Linked DNA regions of Homo sapiens: region 1 is linked to region 2. Evidence: promoter capture Hi-C in human tissues and cell types (Jung and others, 2019). All regions are on one chromosome and are shown on one strand. The core of a region is centred on a gene start or on the middle of the fragment in contact, and the rest is flanking DNA. Distances in the headings are between cores, read along the strand shown.

Evidence for each region. The method cuts DNA at HindIII sites, captures the fragments that hold promoters and counts their contacts. A contact is called where the count stands out against the background at its distance.
Region 1: the fragment with the promoter of CEBPB here is called in contact with the fragment with the promoter of BCAS4 in region 2 in 1 of the 25 tissues and cell types used here (IMR-90 fibroblasts).

The regions. Positions count from the first base shown.
Region 1 is chr20:50,187,424-50,193,090 of GRCh38, forward strand. CEBPB (CCAAT enhancer binding protein beta) reads left to right here and starts at 3,407. Exons shown (of 1, transcript NM_005194.4): 1 at 3,407-5,245. The coding sequence starts at 3,611. The coding sequence ends at 4,648. It overlaps CEBPB-AS1 (CEBPB antisense RNA 1), which reads right to left and starts at 4,646. Exons shown (of 7, transcript NR_125739.1): 1 at 4,241-4,646; 2 at 3,845-3,999; 3 at 2,575-2,862; 4 at 2,033-2,138; 5 at 1,120-1,204. RefSeq lists silencers at 2,940-3,349, 3,309-3,603, 3,430-3,639, 3,780-4,219, 4,640-4,749. The HindIII fragment of the contact is 25,644 bases long and covers 1-5,667 here.
Region 2 is chr20:50,793,043-50,798,839 of GRCh38, forward strand. BCAS4 (breast carcinoma amplified sequence 4) reads left to right here and starts at 2,019. Exons shown (of 5, transcript NM_198799.4): 1 at 2,019-2,131. The coding sequence starts at 2,042. RefSeq lists a silencer at 1,752-2,571. The HindIII fragment of the contact is 12,365 bases long and covers 1-5,797 here.

The sequences.
Region 1 (5,667 bases), core at 2,157-4,656, 600 kb before region 2:
TGGCTGCCAGTTTGAGATCCTTTCCGGCTCTAGGTTCTGAGGGCAGGTGACTGGGAGAGGTGGCGCCAGGGGGATCCTGGTTTCCTGTGCCCACACAGCCACTCACGTACTCTGGGCCTCTGGGCCGTGGTGGTTCAAGCTCCCACCATCCCCACTTCTTGGGGAAAGGCTGAACAGTACTGGGGTGGGGGTGGGGGAGCAGCAGGCGGGGCCTGTTGAGCAAGAGCCTTGTAAAAACAAGGGCTTACGTCATCCTAGCTTGCAGCTTCCCTGCAGGACACCTGGGTCGGCACCGGGGTGGGACCTGCGCTGAGAAGGGATGGGTCATCCCCAGCAGGGGGTGGAGGGTGGGGAAGGGTGGCAAGCATGTTCCACCCCAGAGGCCAGAGGGCCTAGACCCCTGCTGGGGCTGAGTCTGGTCTTTGGGGGCTGGCCTGCAAGGTCCGAGTAACACCTTAACGCACTGTGTGACCCCAGGTCTACCCTTCTCTGTGCCTCAGTTCTTCTATCCAGAAGATGGGACTCACATTGCCAGGCCTGTTATGACAAACCCAAGAGGGAAAGTCAGACTGGAAAGATTTTATTCCTTCTCATCCTTTCATGTGACCTGGAGCAGACACACTTAGCTCTTCTGGGCCTCAGTTTCCTCATCTATAAAGTGGAGATAATGATAAGACTGTGGCCTGGCGCAGCGGCTCACACCTGTAATCTCAGCACTTTGGGAGGCTGAGGCAAGAGGGCCACTTGAGGCCAGGCGTTCGAGAAAAGCCTGAGCAACAGAGTGAGACATATCCATCTCTACAAAACATTGAAAAATATGAAAAAAGAAGAAGAAAAAAGACCTGCCTCCTACAAATTATCAGTAGGATTAAATGAGTTAATACATGCAAAGAGCTTGGAATGTGGTTCAGAGAAGGTGGAAGTTTGGCCTAAGAACACACAGCAAATCCTCCAATTAGCTTCAGTTCCCCCATATCTCCCTGCATCTCTTCAGAATCCAGAAAGGGAACGTGGGCGAGTGCTTTGGTTCAGAGAGGGGAGCCATTTTGCCTAAGGTCACACAGCCCAGCTAACGAGGAACCTCTCCTTCTTCTCAGCCTCCTCCATTTATTCACTCACCATTCATCGAGCACCTTCTATGTACCAGGCTCTGTTCTAGGCACCAGGGACACAGTAGTGAAGGCCGTGGGGACAGACAGCAAGACTGGCAGGCAAGATAATTCTGATTATAATGAGAATGGTGACGGAAATGAAGCAGGGGTGTGAGAGGAGTGACTGAGGGCCTAGACTTCCCATGGGAAGGTCAGGGAGGGTTTCCCGGAGGAGGCAGCTTTTGGGCTGAGACCTGAGGAGCTGCCTTGGGCAGAGGTGGGGTGACAGTGTTCTTGGTGCACAGGGAACAGCAAATGCATTCCTTCACTGGTAAATGTTGAGCGTGCTGTGCTCAGGAGTCCCTCGTGGGCCAGCCCTCCCCAAGTGGCAGCCTGCAGGGAGACTGAGGTAGACAGCTAGGATAATGGTGGCTGGCGATAGGGAAGGAAATTCACTAGCAGGTGGGACAGGGAGGGCCTCTCAGAAGCCGTGGCCTCTAGCTCAGCCCTGAGTGTCCCATTTTGCAGTGAGGAAGGGCTGGCCGGGTGGCCCTAGGGAAGCTGCCGCACCCCTCTGGGCCTTGATCCCTCCCCAACCCAGAGGCTGCTGGGAAGACCCAGAAAGCCAGCAGGCTGGGCCAGTGTTTTATCCCCTCCCTCCCTGCCTCCTACCCACCAAGGGTGCCCAGAGATGTCATTTCTCCAGCTCTTGGGGGCGGAGGTCACCCCAGCTCAGCAGATAACACCAAAGGTTGAGCAATGCCCGCCTGCCCGCTGGGGCCAGGGCTGGGGTCAGTGGGCTGGGGATCAGCCCCGGGCAGGCTGGGAGCTCCTGCCTAGGTGGCCTGGGCTAGGAGTGGCAGAGAGGTGGGCCCAGGGAGCTGCCCCAATGGCCTAGGAATGGGTCCGGGAGGGCAAAGGGCCCTCTAACCTGAGCCTACCCAGCAGAGGCGGGCAAGTGGTCAGAAGGCCTTGGGCCTGTGTTCAAGTCCAGGCGGGCCGTTGTCGCTTTCCCGTCTGTGAAATGGCAGCAGCAAAAGCATCTTCCTGGTGGGGTGAAAAAAGTTGAACCTCGGGGTGCAGGCCCACCGTAAGCACAGGGCAGGGACTTGGTAAAAACTTATCTTTCTCTTTCCTTCTCTTTCCTGCATACCACCCCCTCCCGTGAGGCCTCGCTTAAGTCCCTCCCTAGCAACTTCAGAAACAGAAGTTTTTGGCCTCTGGGACTGGCAATAGGTCTTAGGGCTCAGATGAGGGCATTTCATTTGGGATGAATGGGGGACATGCGGCCATGTGACCTTGGTATGCCACGCCATGCTCTCTCTGGGCCTCCACTGGCACAATCCGTGGGGGTCCCGTTCTCTCTGATGTGCAGCCCACAACGTAAGCCTTAGGTTTGGGAGTCTGGTGGGAACAATGCCACCACCACTGACAGTAGCGACACCCTTCATGGATTGCAGCTGGGAGAAGTGAAGTGACTCACCCAAGGTCACACAGTGTGGCAGGGCCGAGCACCCCCCGCCCCTGCCCCATCCCAGGGCCCAGGTCGGGTGGCGCAGCGCGGGGCAAGAGAAGACCCGGGCGTGTCCAAGCCTCGAGCAGGCGGCAGGTGTGGTGGGCGGGGCTAGGGGCGGGGCTCCGTGGACCAGGGTCCAGCCCCAAGCGGGGCGCGATCCTGCCCGGTCGCGCCGACCCCCGGGGTCCTCATATTGTCTGTGGCTTAAGAGGGGAGTCGTCACAGGCGTCAAGTCTTCTTTCTAAAGCCGGGGACCTGGGGAGGAGGTGGGAGTTTACGGGAGGAAGGGCCACGGAGATGGGTCGCTTCTCCTGGAGCTAGAGCTGCGGGCTGGGGTCTCCAGGGTTCGGCCCGGGGAGCCGACCCTGGTCGGCCGTCGGGGCTCTGCTCGGCCCTCCTGAAACCTCCGCCTCCTCCAGCAGGGGGCGGGCCGGGGCCGCGTCTCGGGGGGAAGGCGATCAGGTCGCCCCCTCCTCCGATTCCCCCGCCTTCCAGGACAGCCTCCAGCCCAGAGGGGCGGTCCGGGGGCGGGGTCGCACCGCCCCCTCTCGCTCCCAATCCCGGGGCGGCCGGGCGGGGGTGGGCAGGGGGCGTGAGGCCGCCCCTGCGTCCCGGGGGCCCCCCGAAAACGCGCTCCGGGTGCCCGGTCCCTCCGCTGCGCCCTGCCGCCGTCCTCCCGGGGGTCTCGGGCGGCCGCGGCCGTGTCCTTCGCGTCCCGGCGGCGCGGCGGGAGGGGCCGGCGTGACGCAGCGGTTGCTACGGGCCGCCCTTATAAATAACCGGGCTCAGGAGAAACTTTAGCGAGTCAGAGCCGCGCACGGGACTGGGAAGGGGACCCACCCGAGGGTCCAGCCACCAGCCCCCTCACTAATAGCGGCCACCCCGGCAGCGGCGGCAGCAGCAGCAGCGACGCAGCGGCGACAGCTCAGAGCAGGGAGGCCGCGCCACCTGCGGGCCGGCCGGAGCGGGCAGCCCCAGGCCCCCTCCCCGGGCACCCGCGTTCATGCAACGCCTGGTGGCCTGGGACCCAGCATGTCTCCCCCTGCCGCCGCCGCCGCCTGCCTTTAAATCCATGGAAGTGGCCAACTTCTACTACGAGGCGGACTGCTTGGCTGCTGCGTACGGCGGCAAGGCGGCCCCCGCGGCGCCCCCCGCGGCCAGACCCGGGCCGCGCCCCCCCGCCGGCGAGCTGGGCAGCATCGGCGACCACGAGCGCGCCATCGACTTCAGCCCGTACCTGGAGCCGCTGGGCGCGCCGCAGGCCCCGGCGCCCGCCACGGCCACGGACACCTTCGAGGCGGCTCCGCCCGCGCCCGCCCCCGCGCCCGCCTCCTCCGGGCAGCACCACGACTTCCTCTCCGACCTCTTCTCCGACGACTACGGGGGCAAGAACTGCAAGAAGCCGGCCGAGTACGGCTACGTGAGCCTGGGGCGCCTGGGGGCCGCCAAGGGCGCGCTGCACCCCGGCTGCTTCGCGCCCCTGCACCCACCGCCCCCGCCGCCGCCGCCGCCCGCCGAGCTCAAGGCGGAGCCGGGCTTCGAGCCCGCGGACTGCAAGCGGAAGGAGGAGGCCGGGGCGCCGGGCGGCGGCGCAGGCATGGCGGCGGGCTTCCCGTACGCGCTGCGCGCTTACCTCGGCTACCAGGCGGTGCCGAGCGGCAGCAGCGGGAGCCTCTCCACGTCCTCCTCGTCCAGCCCGCCCGGCACGCCGAGCCCCGCTGACGCCAAGGCGCCCCCGACCGCCTGCTACGCGGGGGCCGCGCCGGCGCCCTCGCAGGTCAAGAGCAAGGCCAAGAAGACCGTGGACAAGCACAGCGACGAGTACAAGATCCGGCGCGAGCGCAACAACATCGCCGTGCGCAAGAGCCGCGACAAGGCCAAGATGCGCAACCTGGAGACGCAGCACAAGGTCCTGGAGCTCACGGCCGAGAACGAGCGGCTGCAGAAGAAGGTGGAGCAGCTGTCGCGCGAGCTCAGCACCCTGCGGAACTTGTTCAAGCAGCTGCCCGAGCCCCTGCTCGCCTCCTCCGGCCACTGCTAGCGCGGCCCCCGCGCGCGTCCCCCTGCCGGCCGGGGCTGAGACTCCGGGGAGCGCCCGCGCCCGCGCCCTCGCCCCCGCCCCCGGCGGCGCCGGCAAAACTTTGGCACTGGGGCACTTGGCAGCGCGGGGAGCCCGTCGGTAATTTTAATATTTTATTATATATATATATCTATATTTTTGTCCAAACCAACCGCACATGCAGATGGGGCTCCCGCCCGTGGTGTTATTTAAAGAAGAAACGTCTATGTGTACAGATGAATGATAAACTCTCTGCTTCTCCCTCTGCCCCTCTCCAGGCGCCGGCGGGCGGGCCGGTTTCGAAGTTGATGCAATCGGTTTAAACATGGCTGAACGCGTGTGTACACGGGACTGACGCAACCCACGTGTAACTGTCAGCCGGGCCCTGAGTAATCGCTTAAAGATGTTCCTACGGGCTTGTTGCTGTTGATGTTTTGTTTTGTTTTGTTTTTTGGTCTTTTTTTGTATTATAAAAAATAATCTATTTCTATGAGAAAAGAGGCGTCTGTATATTTTGGGAATCTTTTCCGTTTCAAGCATTAAGAACACTTTTAATAAACTTTTTTTTGAGAATGGTTACAAAGCCTTTTGGGGGCAGTAATTGGCTTTTGTTTTTTATTTTTTTACTTTATTTTGGATTTGTAGGATTTTGTTTTTGCGTTTCTGGTGTGTAGGGGGTTGTGTGTGGGGGGCTGCTGTTATTTTTGGAGGTTTTGGTGGTTGGGTGGGGGTGTTGCAGCTGGTTTTTCTGCCTCCTCTGCTACTCCCCCTCCCACACACACAGGGTCTGCTTGAGATGGGGTTCCAGCCCCGGGGGAAAGGGGAGAAGAGTAATGGGTCAGGCATTCAGGCTGACTCAGAGCCCCTAGGCGCCGGGACGGGTGGCTGGGAACCCTGCTTGAGAAGAGATTCCGGAGCCTCTGGCTGGTCCCGAGTGTCAGGCTTGGGTTTGGAAGGGCTGGGAGGTCTGTGACCCCTGCCCTGTGTTTGGGGACTAGGTA
Region 2 (5,797 bases), core at 769-3,268:
TGGTGATCTGAGGCCAGTCCTGGGCTCTTTGTGGGAGATGCCTAGCCAGCAGGCAAGGGCAAGGGTCTGAGACCGGCTCCCAGGGGATGGCGAGGAGGGCTCAGAGCATCAGGGAAATCATGACAATGACGAATGGCCGAGTGTGGGCTCAGTGAGTTCCTATAAAACCCTTAAGCACTTGAGGCCCAAGTCTTTGCCAAGAATTTTCCAGAAAATGACTGGCCTGAAGGCCTGGATATTTGGATAGGGAGAAATTAGCAGTGGACAGATTTGGAAGTGGGAATTGTGCAGTGATGGACTACACAAAAGGCAGGTCAAACATGTGTTGTTTAGGCCCCTACCTAGGGTGGCCAACTACAATATAAATTCAGATTTAATGGAGAGGAAGGTGTGGGACGTCCTATATATTTATTTGCACCCTTGATACCAGCCCCTCCTTTTTAAAAAACAACAACAACAACAAAAGACAGAGTTTCACTGTGTCACACAGGCTGGAGTGCAGTGGTGCGATCATAACTCGCGGTAGCCTTGAACTCCTGGCCTCAAACAATCCTCCTGCATCTGCCTCTCCAGTAGCTAGGACTACAGTTGTGCCCCACCACATCCTGCAATTTTAATTTTTTTTTTTCTTTTAGAGAGATGGAGTCTCCTTATGTTTGCCCAAGCAGCTCAGCCTTTTTTTTTTTTTTTTTTTGTGAGGCGATTTAACATTTAAAGAAAAGTCAGCAGGCAGGGGGCGCTGGCCCACGCCTGTAATCCTAGCACTTTGGGAGGCCGAGGCAGGTGGCTCACCTGAGGTCAGGAGTTCGAGAGCAGCCTGGCCAACATGGCGAAACCCCGTCTCTACTAAAAAATACAAAAATTAGAATTAGTCGGGCGTGGTGACAGGCGCCTGTAATCCCAGCTACTCGGGAGGCTGAGGGAGGGGGAGAATTGCTTGAACCCGGAATGTGGAAGTTACAGTGAGCCGAAATCGCACCACTGCACTCCAGCCTGGGCGACAGAGCGAGACTCCGTCTCCAAAAAAAAAAAATTAATTAATTAAAAATAAAAATAAGTCATCAAACGAAAAATCAAAACTTCAGACTTGTCTTATACCTATTTGCCTTTTAGTACTTTCCTCATTAGCACTGTTGGGGTGGGAGATGAGGCGCACCTCGCTCTCTTCAGCCCCAAGGCTTGTAAAGGGTCTATCTAGGCCGGCCTCCGAGGGCATGGAGGGAGTGGGTGCGGTTGTGAAATGTAGTGCGCTCAATAGTTTCCTGGTGAAGTTTATTTTAAAATCCGCACCGAAGAGGAAGACGAGGACCGTCACACTCGGCCTTCCCTAAATTCCAGGACCCTCCGCCCGATGCAAACTAGATGCTTTAGTAGGATGGGAACGGGTGGGGGGCGGGCGGCTTTGGGCTTCCTCTAAGCTAGCGCCTCTCTAACCCGGACGCCCGTTAGAATCACCCGGGGAGTTTTAGAAACTACCGATGCCCAAGCCCCACTCCGAAGGATTCCAACTTAATCGGCCTGGTGCGAGGCCTGGCTTCCGGGCTTTTAAAAGCTTCCCGGGGATTCTATTTTACGGCCGGGTCCGGGGCCGGGAGCCTGTACTCTACCGGGATTCCGATGGGGAGGGGTGGCTTGCCCCAATAGTTCTCAAATTTAGCTTTGGGTCAACAATCTGGTTGGAACCACCTAACAAACATCAAAAGATCCTGATGCCCAGGTCTTAACCCAGAGACGGTGTGGTCCAGGCTTGGGAAATTCTAAAAGAGCTCCAGGTGACTGCCATCTGCAAGCGAGTTTGCAAAGCACTGATGCCCAGGTGCTGCGGGGGCGGGCGCAGCGCGCGCCGCTCGCCACTGGGTGGCGCTGCCCGCTCGGCCCGGCGCTCCTGGAGCTGCGAGCCGCGACCGCCGGGAGCGCACCTGCCCCGCCTCCGCCAGGCGGTCCGCGGGGCATGCAGCGGACCGGGGGCGGGGCTCCGAGGCCCGGGCGCAACCACGGGCTCCCAGGCAGCCTCCGCCAGCCGGACCCCGTCGCCCTCCTGATGCTGCTCGTGGACGCTGATCAGCCGGAGCCCATGCGCAGCGGGGCGCGCGAGCTCGCGCTCTTCCTGACCCCCGAGCCTGGGGCCGAGGTAGGGGACGGGGCTGTGGAGTTGGAGGAGAGGGTTCTCGCGGTTAGGGGTCCGGGCTCCGGACCCTCGGCTTCCCCGGAGCATCCTCTCGCTCCCGGAGTGGGGGGCCCGGGGATTCCCCCCTTCCTGAAGGGTGGCTGCGGGGCGCCACGCAGAGATGTGCAGCGGGTCGTCCCTGCTCGCTCCTCCGGGCGACACCGGGCCCCGGAGGCCCAGGCTCGCTTTCCCTCCCCACCCGGGTCCCCCAGCATCCGCCGGGTCCTCAGGCGCCGCCCTTTGCCAGGCCGGCCCTGGGAGAGGCGGACCCCGGGACCTCTGCTGCCCCGGCTACCTCCGAGCGGTGCCCGGGCCGAGCGGCGCCTCAGGCTGCGGCTGTGCGGGCCGCGCTGCGCTGCTGCAGCTCGGAGCGAAAACACCACGCCTCTGTCTGCGCTTTCTATTTTAAAAGCACCAAGTGAAAAGCAGATCTAAAACGAGACCCTCTACCTTCCGGCTGGAGGCATCTGTCGACGCTGTTGTGAAAAAGTTATTTGTCTGAGTTCACTAGGAGTTATTTACGGTCAGAAATTCAACCCATTCTCTTTTTAAACCACAAAAGCAGTACAGGAGTATTTAACATAAAGGCTATGCACCCCTTTCTCTTTTCTCTCCCACCCCAATTCTAGTTTTCTTAGAAAACCAGCATTAACTGTTTGGTATAAATCATTCCGGACATTTAAAATGCATTTACAAATGTAGATATCTGTATCTGCCTAGGCAGAGTATTGGCTCATGCCAGTGGTCCCAGCATTCTGGGAGGCTGAGGCAGGAGGATTGCTTGGGATGGGGATAGGGGACGGGGAAGAGTGAGGCTGCAGTGAGGCTTGATCATGCCACTGCACTCCAGCCTGGGCGACAGAGTGAGACATTTAAAAAAAAATCTATCTCGCCAGGCCTGGTGGCTCACGCTTGTAATCCCAGCACTACTGGGAGGCCGAGACGGGTGGATCACCTGAGGTCAGGAGCTCGAGACCAGCCTGACCAACATGGTGAAACCCCGTCTCTACTAAAAATACAAAAATTAGCCGGGTGTGTAATCCCAGCTACTTGGGAGGCTGAGGCAGGAGGATCGCTTGAACCTGGGAGGCGGAGGCTGCAGTGAGCTGAGATCAGCCATTGCATTCCAGCCTGGGCAACAAGAGCAAAACTCCCTCTCAAAAAAAAAAACCATAAAATATCTTTCCATATATATATATATACATATATATGAGTTTTCTCTTTTTTCTTTTTCTTTTTCTCCATATATATATATATATATATATATATATATATATATTTTTTTTTTTTTTTTTTTTTTTTTTGAGATGGAGTCTTGCTCTGTCACCAGGCTGGAGTGCATTGGCATGATCTCAGCTCACTGCAACCTCCGCCTCCCAGGTTCAAGGAATTCTCCTGCCTCAGCCTCCCGAGTAGCTGGGACTACAGGCGTGTGCCACCATGCTCAGCTAATTTTTGTATTTTTCAGTAGAGACGGGGTTTCACCATGTTGGCCAGGATGATCTCTATCTCTTGACCTCGTGATCCACCCTCCTCGGCCTCCCAAAGTGTTGGGATTACAGGCGTAAGCCACAGCGCCCAGCCATCTCCACATATTTTTAAAATAATTTTTGAACAGACGTTTTTAATTTTTTTTTTTTTGACAGGGTTTCACTTTGTCACCCAGGCTGGAGTGCAGTGACACAATCATAGCTCAATGTAGCCTCAACCTCCTGGGCTCAAGTGATCCTCCCACCTCAGCCTCCCGCATAGCCAGGACCACAGGTGCGCACCACCATGTCAGGTTAACTTTTAAAACAAAGTTATTTTGTGGAGACGAGATCTCACTATGTTGCCCAGGCGGGTCTTGAATTCCTGGGCCCAAGAGATCCTTTGGCCTCAGCCTCCCAAAGTGCTGGGATTATAGGCATGTACCACCATGCCTGGCCCATCTATATTAGTTTTAAATGAAACCTCACTTGCTGCTGTAATACTGTCCTGCAACTTGCTTTTCTTTACTCAAAATAGCATGGAAAAATGTGTGGGGACTACTAATGGGAAGGTATGGGGCTTCGTTTTGGTGTAATGAACATGTTCTGGATGTTAGATAGTTGTGTTGGTTGCACAAATTTGTGAATATACTGAAAACTGCTGAATCGTACACTTTGAAAGGGTGAATTTTGTGGTTTGTGAATTATATCTCAATTTAAAAAAATAGCATGGAGGCAGGGTACAGTGGCTTATGCCTGTAATTCCAGCGACTTAGGAAGCTGAGGTGGGAGGATCACTTGAGACCAGGAGTTCAAGACCAGTCTGGGCAACGCAGGGAAACCCCTGTCTCTACAAAAAAATGTTAAAATATAAAAAATTAAAAATAACACGAACAAAAATTTAAAAATTAAAAATAACATGAGCATGTATCCATAAACACTGTCCAATAGAAATATAATTGGAGCTACAAATGTGAGCTACCTATGCAATTTTTTTTGTTTTTGAGACAGAGTTTCACTCTTGTTGCCCAGGCTGGAGTGCAATGGTGTGATCTCGGCTCACCGCAACCTCCACCTCCTGGGTTCAAACGATTCTCCTGCCTCAGCCTCCCGAGTAGCTGGGATTACAGGCATGCGCCACCACGCCCAGCGAATTTTGTATTTTTAGTAGAGACAGGGTTCCTCCATGTTGGTCAGGCTGGTCTCGAACTCCTAGCCTCAGGTGATCTGCCCGCCTCGGCCTCCCAAAGTGCTGGGATTACAGGTGTGAGCCACTGTGCGTGGCCACCTACGCAATTTTTAGTGTTCTAGGAGCCACATGAAAAAGAAACAGGTGGCCAGGCACCATGGCTCATACCTGTAATTCCAGCATTTTGGGAGGCCAGGGCAGGCGGATCACTTGAGGCCAGGAGTTTGAGACCAGCCTGGCCAACATGGTGGAACCCTGTCTCTACTAAACATACAAAAATTAGCCAGATGTGGTGGCATGAGCCTGTAATCCCAGCTACTTGGGAGGCTGAGGCATAAGAAACGCTTGAACCTGGGAGGTGGAGGTTGCAGTGAGCCGAGATCATGCCACTGCACTCCAGCCTGGGCAATAGAGTGAGACTCTGTCTCAAAACAAACAAACAAACAAAAAAAACCCAAAAGAATTAAAAAAGAAAAGAAACAGGTGAAATTAATTTCAATATATTTAAAATAACAGTATATCTGGGCCAGGAGCAATGGCTTACGCCTGTGGTCCCAGTACTTTGGGAGGCCAAGACTGGAGGATCACTTGAGCCCAAGGAGTTCAAGACCAGCCTGGGCAACATAGTGAGGCCCCCGTCTCTAGTTAATAAAAAAATAAAAATAAAAAGCATATCCAAAATATTTCAACATATGATCACTAGTACAAAGTTAATGAAATTTTACATTCTGTTCTTTGTCCTGAGTTTTCAAAATCAGGCTTTTGATACTGAACTTTCAGTCCATCTCAGCTTGGACTGGGCACATTTGAAGTGTTCAGTAGTCCCATGAGACGCGTGGCTGCCATGTTGGAGAGCCTAGGTCTCCGTCACCCTCTGCCTTCCTAGTGTCCCATGATGAAATAGTAATTGCTCCCATTCCTGAGCACATACTGTGTGGCACCAGTTTGCTAAACTGTGTTCATGGCTTATGT